Linked DNA regions of Homo sapiens: regions 1 and 3 are each linked to region 2. Evidence: promoter capture Hi-C in 16 types of primary human blood cells and fetal thymus (Javierre and others, 2016). All regions are on one chromosome and are shown on one strand. Each heading gives the region's core, a stretch centred on a gene start or on the middle of the fragment in contact. The rest is flanking DNA. Distances are from core to core; before and after follow the strand shown.

The links. Contacts are between HindIII fragments. The CHiCAGO score rates a contact against its expected background, and 5 or more counts as called.
Region 1: a contact is called between a fragment that was not itself captured here and the fragment with the promoter of PUS7L in region 2, in 2 of 17 cell types (naive B cells and total B cells). The highest score is 7.2, in naive B cells.
Region 3: a fragment that was not itself captured here is called in contact with the fragment with the promoter of PUS7L in region 2 in 1 of 17 cell types (total CD4 T cells); the score reaches 6.1 in total CD4 T cells.

The regions. Positions count from the first base shown.
Region 1 is chr12:40,101,213-40,104,349 of GRCh38, forward strand. All of the region lies in intron 1 of SLC2A13 (solute carrier family 2 member 13), which reads right to left. Among named protein-coding and RNA genes, the nearest start is that of SLC2A13, 3.3 kb to the right of the region's middle. The HindIII fragment of the contact is 1,142 bases long and covers 1,061-2,202 here.
Region 2 is chr12:43,757,201-43,760,273 of GRCh38, forward strand. PUS7L (pseudouridine synthase 7 like) reads right to left here and starts at 1,590. Exons shown (of 9, transcript NM_031292.5): 1 at 1,530-1,590. It overlaps IRAK4 (interleukin 1 receptor associated kinase 4), which reads left to right and starts at 1,751. Exons shown (of 12, transcript NM_016123.4): 1 at 1,751-1,816. RefSeq lists enhancers at 1,278-1,327, 1,668-1,777, 2,398-2,457. The HindIII fragment of the contact is 3,611 bases long and covers 1-2,260 here.
Region 3 is chr12:39,620,489-39,623,543 of GRCh38, forward strand. No RefSeq gene overlaps it. Among named protein-coding and RNA genes, the nearest start is that of ABCD2, 2.2 kb to the left of the region's middle. RefSeq lists an enhancer at 856-935. The HindIII fragment of the contact is 1,017 bases long and covers 1,182-2,198 here.

The DNA of each region.
Region 1 (3,137 bases), core at 382-2,881, 3.7 Mb before region 2:
TGCCATATTTAAAACAGGCACGCAGTATTTTTTTTACAACCAGTCAAGAAAACAGAACCCTTAAATCAAAACAAATACACATATCCCTGACTTCTGATACTTAAGGTCTTTTACTATACAATTCATTTAATACCCATTAATAACTACACTCTACTCCTTGCTATCTTCGCCTTTGTCAAAGGTTTCTACTGAAGGGTCCACTGACTCCTTCCATATCAGTAATTCACGGTCACATGCTATGCTTTACCCATCCTGTAGTAGCCATCTCAGCAAATGATTGCTAATACCCAAAATTTCAAAGACATGAGAAGACTTAAGAAAGAAGGTAAAAGAGCTTAAAAGTATAATGGGAAAACAAAAACCCTCACATCTCAGATTCAAGAGATGTTAAATCTGATTACATTATTTACTGTTAAAAACCTCTAAAAGCTCTCCAAATAAACCATATTCAGCCTAATCCCCCCAAAACATTCCAGTCTCATGACCACCTCATCACCACCCTCACTCATCTATGCTTCAAATACTAATTTGATTTTTCTGTGCCTTTACACCAGCTATTAACTCCACCTTAAATGCCCAGTAGGGTAACAGAGCAAAAGACTCAAGGTTGTTTGTTTTTTTTTTTTAATCCTGTCTCTGTAATCAGTGACCTTGCCATTTAACTGTTTCCACACCCAACAAAAGGAGACCCATTCCTCAGACTCAGGAAGATTAAATGAGGTAATATGTGTAAAGTACTCCACCAGGTCTCGAACATACTAAAGCACTAAATAAGCACTTTTCTGGCTACATCTACATCATCTGCTGAACACCTACTCACTCTTCAAACCCTACTTTGAATATCCCACTGTAGAACTTTCCTCAATCCTGTGTTCTATTTTTTTCCCTGAAAGAATCAACTGACCACTTACTCTTCTGTGTGTCATCTGGCACTACAGAGAAATGTCTCTTTTAATTGCTTGTTTATGTATCTTTCTACTCCATTATAAAATGAACACCTCCAGGGTGGGATTTTTATCTAATTACTGCCTGCCCCATATCTGACAGGATCCATAATGGAAGCTTAATTAGCAAGTGTTGAATAGATAATGATTTCATTAAACTATTACAACCAAAACCTTTAGATGCCCTTTCAAATATTTTGATAATGCACTATTTTTGTGGTTTGAAAAGAACAATCCTACCTTAAAGTGCTACCCGACCAGCAATGGAATTTGGATTTTTTTTTTTCGTTTTTGCTCACCATTCATTTATTCAACAAGTATCTCCTATGTGGCAGGAATATATCAGTGAACAAAATGAGCAGAAATCCTTGACCCACATGGGCCGTATATTTTACCACAGGTAAACGTGTGGAGGAAAGAAGTTCTTAGAGCAAACTTGTCTGAAAAAGGTATCAAAAGCCACATTTTGTTATTCATCAACATTTCCTAAATATCATAAGGACAAAACAACAAATCCCTGACTACACATAAAATTTAACTACTTAAAAAACAATGGCATAAAATTAACCCAGATTGTGTACCAAACAAGCAAACTGATTTAATGTCCCTCAAAAAATGCTCATGTTAGGAACCCATTTCCTTGTAGCTTAAAAAAAAGTGATTTTCTTTGTAAGTTTTAATGATTTTATGTGTATAATTACATGCTTTGCATAGATCCTAATTTTAATCCTAATTTGAAGTGGATTTATTTCATTACTGTTTTGTTTTGAATGCGGCCTATTTCAAAGCCTGTTTATGATCTTAAAACATTCTTCATTTTGTAAATGAAGAGGGCTTTTACGAAACTGCCTCAGGGCTTCTATTCTGAGAGGTATGTTTCTGGAAGTGAGATGGGCCACACCAGAACTGAATGGAGAACATATCTAAACTGGGCTTCTCTATTGAACCAACCAGCCCAGAGACCACAGAATGAGGCTGCAAGACAGAGAGGCCTCCACAGCTCTTGCACACCAACACTTCCAATCTGATCTCCTGCTTTGTCCTCTATTGCTGCTTCCACCTATTCCCCAAGTATGCCCTATGCTTTCCTTCCTTTACCCATTTTGCCCCTTGCTTAGAACGTCCTTTCCTCGTTTCTGTTAAAATACTGACATGTCAACATACCATTTCCATTGGTAAGAGCTTCTGGCTTCCCTCTGTTGGAGATAACTGTACCCCCTCTGAATTCATCAGCCATCTCTGATAACCTATCTTATAAAGCTTAGCAAGTTCTACGTTGCTTTTGCCCCAGCTTGCTACATTTACTAAAGTATAATACATTCTCCTCACTATTCAGCTCACAACATCTGGAAGGGGACCTTACACAGAACAGGGCTCAATTCGCAGGTCAGATAAAAAGAGTAAACATAATACCCAAGATTTTAACCAATACCTGCCATAGCAAAACACTAGGAAGCTTCATTTAGACAGCTCTGCAAAGCATGATTCAATTTCAAAATTACAGAAAAGATTGAGGTTGACAGAACAATTCTTGCTACCTAAAATGATGTTATTTCTATGTCAGAAGCAACAAAAAAGGTCCAGATGTCCCAAGCAGACAATGCTGAGAAAAGAATCGTGGTCACTTAAACAGCAGGTTATTTGTTGAAGGGTCCTGAAGGCCCAAGTAGTTTCCACACAAATAGGTTTCATTTCAGCTGGATTTTTTGGTCACTTTGGATATTTTTGTGCCAACTTAATATGTTACGGAGAGCTTTGCCCTACCTTTGCTAATTAACAGTACAATAAACAGCAAAAGGAAGGTCACTACTGACAAACTTTGAATATAAAGTGCAGTGAGCTGGGTTTTAGGCTCATGGTTCCCGCATGTGGAGTTGAATATATGGCCTTTGCTTCCCTTCAGAACCCACAGAGAAAGGGTGAAAAGCACAAACATCAAACAAGTGGTGAATACACAGATCAGCAGCAGCCCCAGGTTTAAAGCGCTTTCATCAAGCCCCAGCCATAGGGAAGAAATACTTCAACAGCACCCTAAGGGAAACAAAAAACTGAATTATGAAACGAAACATTAAAAAAGCATCAGCGGTGTGTCTTAGAAAAATTACTAGTGAGATTTAAGTCACAGCCCCCCACTTTCCCTCAAAAGTGCTTTCTAATAATACAGAGCACATTCCAAATAGCTTCCCTCTGCCA
Region 2 (3,073 bases), core at 340-2,839:
CACTCTGTCGTCCAGGCTGGAGTGCAGTGGCATGATCTCGGCTCACTGCAACCTCCGCCTCCCGAGTTCGAGCGATTCTCCTACTTCAGCCTCCCGAGTAGCTGGGACCACAGGGGCGCGCCACCACGCCCGGCTAATTCTTGTATTTTTTTAGTAGAGATGGGGTTTCACCATATTGGCCAGGGTGGTCTTGAACTCCTGACCTCGTGATCCACCCGCCTCGGCCTCCCAAAGTGCTGGGGTTACAGGCGTGAGCCACCGTGCCCAGCAAGTGATTCTCTTTCACAAAACCCTATTTAATTTTCTGCATAGCAGTTCTAGGTAAAGTTTTTCTTTATTATTTATTGTATATCTCCTCCAAAGAGAATGTTAGTTCCACGTGAGGAGTAACCTTGTCTGCCTTATTTACTACTGATGATCACACATTTTGAACAGTGTCAAGCACATGGTAGGTCTGCAATAAATACTATTGTTAAATAAATGAAATAACTAGTACAAAATAAGAGCTGTAGGAATGAAGTGGAAGATAATTAGAAGAGGCATAATGCAAGAAGTGGCCATCTAAGTCCTCCATAGTTCAAGAGATAGAAATGAGGCAGAGACCTCACAAGTAATGTACAAACAAAACATGCAATGTGTGCAAGAAAAACAAGCAGTCCAGATACAGAGCAGTGGGGATGGGAATGCAGGGAGACTACAGTGCTGGAAAATGTAGCTGAGTTAGTACCAGATTATGGAAGATGTTGAATGCCCTGACAAGGACTTAGAATCTATTGGGTGGTCAATGGATGGCTACTGTTAGTGTTTGAGTAGAAAAGTGACACAATTCCAAAACATGCTTTTGGAATTGTAAGATGATTCTGATGGAAATGAGCAAGATGTATCCGATGGAGTAACAGTTAGAGGAGTTCAAAAACAAAACAGCATGGTCAAGAACATAGCTGTAGGGATTGGCCCTGAAAGAATAATGATCTTTTCTTTCTCCCAGAAAAAAGGAGGAAGACAGACATTCTAAGCAAGTGAAACAGGTAGGGAAACTTGGGGAGAATGTAATTCCAGCATCCTGGTAGAAGAGTGGAACTGACCTGGAGGACAGCAAAGGAGCCCACGTGGCGTTAAGCCTGAAGGTGCAGTATTCCCATTCAACAGAGACTGCTGCTGACAGTGGGCGGGGGAGTAGTTTGCTTGGCCCGTGGTTGAGGAATTCGTTGGCGGAGGAGGGATCCTGAGAAGGTACTAGAAATACTGAACCCAGTCCTGCAGAAGCTACTTAACTTCACAGAAAACTAGGGCGTCGTTGCCCTCCAGCACGTCCAAAGGTGTCCCCGACAAGGCCAGCAGCTCTACCTGTTTCTTCTCCCTCCTCTTACTCTGCCTGTCCAAAGGCACGACACTAGTCCACGTCACCTTTCTTTGGGCGCAAAGGGTATGGATCCTCAATGCCAACCTCGTCACCCCCCCCCCCCACACACACACACACACACACACATACAAGCCCACCATCGCGCAAGAAACTCGACCCCGTCTACCTCGGTTCAGTGGAAGGCATTCATTTGCACAACGCTGTGCGCATGCCCGGAAGCCTTAAGTGTTTCAGCCTCCGACAGGGGCGTAATTAAAGGGGCAGGCGCCCACGTAAAGACGCGCCCTACGCAATACGTGGAGTTTCTCACTTTGTGGAGCCGCCTGGAGGCGCCAAGATGAAGCCCATCGGGGAAGTGGGGCGGGGCCAACCCGGCAGGCCCCGCCCCTTCGCGGCGCTTCCTAGTTCGGCTGGTTCTTCTGTCGCCGGCTTCAGCAGCCCGCGCCCGGGCAGGTAAGGCATTCCCCGCCTTAATGCCTCGGTCAAACGTCGTCCGAGGTCCGCTTCCAGGCCTCGGCACCTCTGCCCCAGGGTTGCTGGGGTCGGCTGCGGAACGGAAATCTCTTTATCATCCGTGAGAAAAGTTAGAGAGGAAGTGGGTTCCTTTGACAGAGCTTACTCCAGAAGAAAGACTTGGGTAGGTCCCCGGTAATCAAGAAGTTCGTCGGCCCTGAGGAAGAGCCTGAGGCTTGGAGGGACGTCACCCAGCTGTTCTGGGGCGCAGTCGGACCTCAAGTTTCTCACCTCTCAGGCCCTGGATTCCGTGAACCCGACTGCGAAATGAAGTCTCTTTTCCCCAGAACCAGGAAGTCAGGCCAGCACCTGACAGATGCCTGTGGCGCCAGCAGCTCGCTGAGCCTCCACACGATTGTAATTCGCTTGTTTCTCCGGCCTCCAAGCTTCCAGGGAATTAGAAAGTGGAGGCGGCTTATGGGATCAGATGAGTACATTCGCAGATGGGGGAAAAAAGTGTACCTGTCAGCTTGGAAGCCAGAGGGAGACAAAGGGATAAAAGCAAACCCTGTCCAGGTGCGGTGGCTCATGCTTGTAATCCCAGCACTTTGGGAGGCCCAGGCGGGCGGATCGCTTGAGGTCAGGAGTTCGAGACCAGCCTGGCCAACATGGTGAAACCCCTGTCTCTACTAAGATACAAAATTTAGCTGGCATAGTGGCGGGCGCCCGTAATGCCAGCTACTCCGGGGGCTGAGGCAGGAGAATCGCTTGAACCCAGGAGGCAGAGGTTGCAGTGAGCCGAGATCGTGCCACTACACTCCAGCCTGGGCAACAGAGGGAGACTCCGTCTCAAAAGAAAAAAAAAAAAAAAAAAGCAAACCCTGAGAAAGCGAGAAAGCACTTTGAGCATTTAGAATGGGAACAAACGGCGCTATTAGTGCTTCAAAAACGTAACTGCCCAAGGCCCCTGGTAAGCAGAGGATACTAAAATCTGCCTTTTCCCTTTCTTGGAGTGGTCCTTGAAGAGGGCTATCGGGAAGTTCAAATTTCTTCTGTTTTCCTGCAGAGCGTTCATTTGAAGTTTGCTTTCTACCTCTCCAAACTGAGCTTCTGATATTCCAGGCCAAACTTGCTCCTTCCTCAGCCTTCTCTATCTCAGTAAATATCGGTAAACTTGGTTATGCTGTCTTCTCACTCTCCACATCAGCCCATAGCTTTCTATTGGCTCCACCTCAGAATCCTAGGACTTCTGCACTT
Region 3 (3,055 bases), core at 440-2,939, 4.1 Mb before region 2:
CCGGCTTTTTTGGGGGTCTGATTTCACAAAAGGTCTCAGAACCTAATAGACAAGTTGTAATCGAGGGTTTCCCTTGTAAATAAATAGGATAAAAGTCTTCCGTGTTACAGAAAATAATTATTTGCTATGCCTCTAGCCATTCTCCCTTTTTCCTCTGCATCCTACTTGTCCTTATGCTAAAAATCTTCCAGCCCCATAACTGGAGATCTGATGTACTCATATTTATTTACAAGGTGACGACTATTAAATAAATGAGAGCAATGTTTCATGTTTACTACTCCCATGTGTTAGGTAGTTTTTACTTGGAGTGGGGTAGCACTTATAGTGAAAGTTTAACCATTTGGGAATTCAGCTGGTGTTGGATGGTGGAAATAGCTTCTCTAGGACCTTACTTCATTTTTCAAGAATGCTTTGTCTTTTGCAGGTTTCTGCTTTGTTTGTTTTGTTTAGCTGTAGAGATAATCTACTGGCTACTTCCTATTTCCATTTGGTTATTTGATAAAAACTAAGAGTCTTAAAATTCTTCACATCCATAATGGAGGATTTAAATTGTTCAACAGTCAAGGACAATTCTGCATATTTTTGAAAATGTAAAAAGCTTTTTTTTTTTTTTTTTTTTTTTTTTTTATGAGACAGAGTCTCTCTCTGTCACCCAGGCTGGAGTGCAGTGGCACGATCTCAGCTCACTGCAGCCTCCGCCTCCCAGGTTGGTGCCTCAGCAGCCCGAGTAGCTGGGATTACGAGGGTGCGCCTACCATACTTGGCTAATTTCTGTAGTTTTAGTAGAGATGGGTTTTGCCATGTTTGCCAGGCTGGTCTCAACCTCCTGGCCTCAAGTGATCCACCTGCCTTAGCCTCCCAAAGTGCTCGGATTATAGACGTGGGCCACCACGCCCAGCCAAGAGCATTTTTTAAGTCAGGGCTGAGTATATTTTTGGATATGGAAAAACCATTTTTTTTGCTCTTCACTGTCCCCGCCCCCCATCTCATTAAAATTCTCGGAAATCTCCCTTTCTGCTTGCTCTTCTGCTTGTGGTATCTACTGAAATCTTACAAAAGTGATATATATTCTGAAACTTCTGGGGATTTCTAAGTGACACTGAGTATGCTCAGTAGCTACAGCCAGTTTTGTTCACCAGCAGCTGGCCCCCAACATACATACACATTTCCAGTCAATTAAAAGCTTAGGAAAATATGCATCAAGCTAGAACAGAAGTTGGCAAATTACAACTGGTGGGCCAAATCTAGCCTGCCACTTAATTTTATATGACCCTTAAGCTAGGAATGATTTTTACATTTTTAAAGTGGTTGAAAATACTTCAAAACAAGAATATTTTGTCCTGTGAAAATTATATAAAATTCTCATTTTTGTGTTTATAAATAAAGTTTTATTGGAAAACAGTCACACCCATTCATTTACTCTCTGTCTATGGCTTCTTTCAAGCCACAGTGGTGGATGCAACAAAGACTAAAATATGTACTATTTGGCCCTTTATAGAAGTTTGCAAACCTCTGTGCTAGAATATAAAACCCATCTCAGCATTAAATGATCTTCATTACTGAGTTTATCACAAAGAACTATCCTCACTTTCATAAGTAACCATATTCTTAAAATTTTAAAACTTCTTTCTTATGTACTCATATTAATTCTGACAATCATCACATATCTCTTCATTTGTTTGCATTCAATTCAGCAGACTGACTGACACATGAGTGTCAAACTCATGCAAGTTTTTTTGATAGCTGGCCATATTAGTAGCATAATCCATCATCCCATTAAGACTTTTTAAGCCTGTATGTACAGATAATAGTGGTCATGGAAGTTATTGCCAAAATCTTTTATTCCTAAGCTCTTGCTTTTGTTGTATGCAAGATAAGGTTGCCTTTCATTTATGTCACATCTCCTAACAGCTACACACAAAAGGGTTAGCAGTGACAGGACAGGTTAAAGGCCAGAGTAAACCTAACTGGGGGTGATGGCAGGATGTTGTTAGGCAGAACATGGTACACAGAAGGATGCAGACAGCAGCTGGCAGTCGAGGCAAGTGGTTTGCAATACATACAACCAGAGACAGCCATATTAGGGGAGGAGCATGGCAGTGAGAACTCTAGAAGCAAAGGACACTAGAGATTCAAATAGGACTTAGCTGGAGGTAGGTCAGTTTACCAACTGATAATGAGGTTATAGTGCAGGAACAAGCTTTCAGCATCTGGAGTGAGAGACTTGTGAGAATGAAGAATTATTTATGAGGAAAATGATCAAGACAGAAATTTTGTTACCTGAATCGTGGTACAAGGAAGGTTGAAAGTGAGTTACTTGAAGTGTGGAAAATGTCAACGTGAAATTTGATTTGATATTGAGCCACTTAGGTGAAGACCTAACTCTAACCACTTAAATTTCACTCCCACCATTCACCTCTCCCTGCTCTCAAGGGTAAGAGTTGGTCCTAGTGTCTGAGACTAGACACAAGCCTTCAGATAAGGCAGAGGAAGGATTCAAGAAGACAGGAAGCCATATGGACAATTAGGTCAATAATATATGGCATTTAAGTAAAAAACTAAGAATGTCAAGGTACTTCTTTCAGTTTTTTCTTTTTCTTTTCTTTCTTTCTTTCTTTTTTTGAGGGGGATGGAGCCTCACTCTGTTGCCCAGGCTGGAGTGCAATGGCACAATCTAGGCTCACTGCCACCTCTGCCTCCCAGGTTCAAGTGATTCTCCTGCCTCAGTCTCTCAAGTAGCTGGGACTGCAGGTGCCCACCACCACGCCCAGCTAATTTTTGTATTTTTAGTAGAGATGAGGTTTTGCTACGTTGGTCAGGCTGGTCTCGAACTCCTGACCTCAGGTGATCCACCCCCGTCGGCCTCCCAAAGTGCTGGGATCACAGGCGTGAGCCACCGCGCCCGGCCTTCTTTCAGTTTTTTTCTATTGACAGTATGCAATTAAAGCTAAGAGACTGTTAATTTAGTTTGAATTCCAAACTAGGAAAGAGGAGAAAAAAATCTTTGTTACTGTAGTAAAAAACATACTTAGGCCTAATTTCCACACAAACGTCT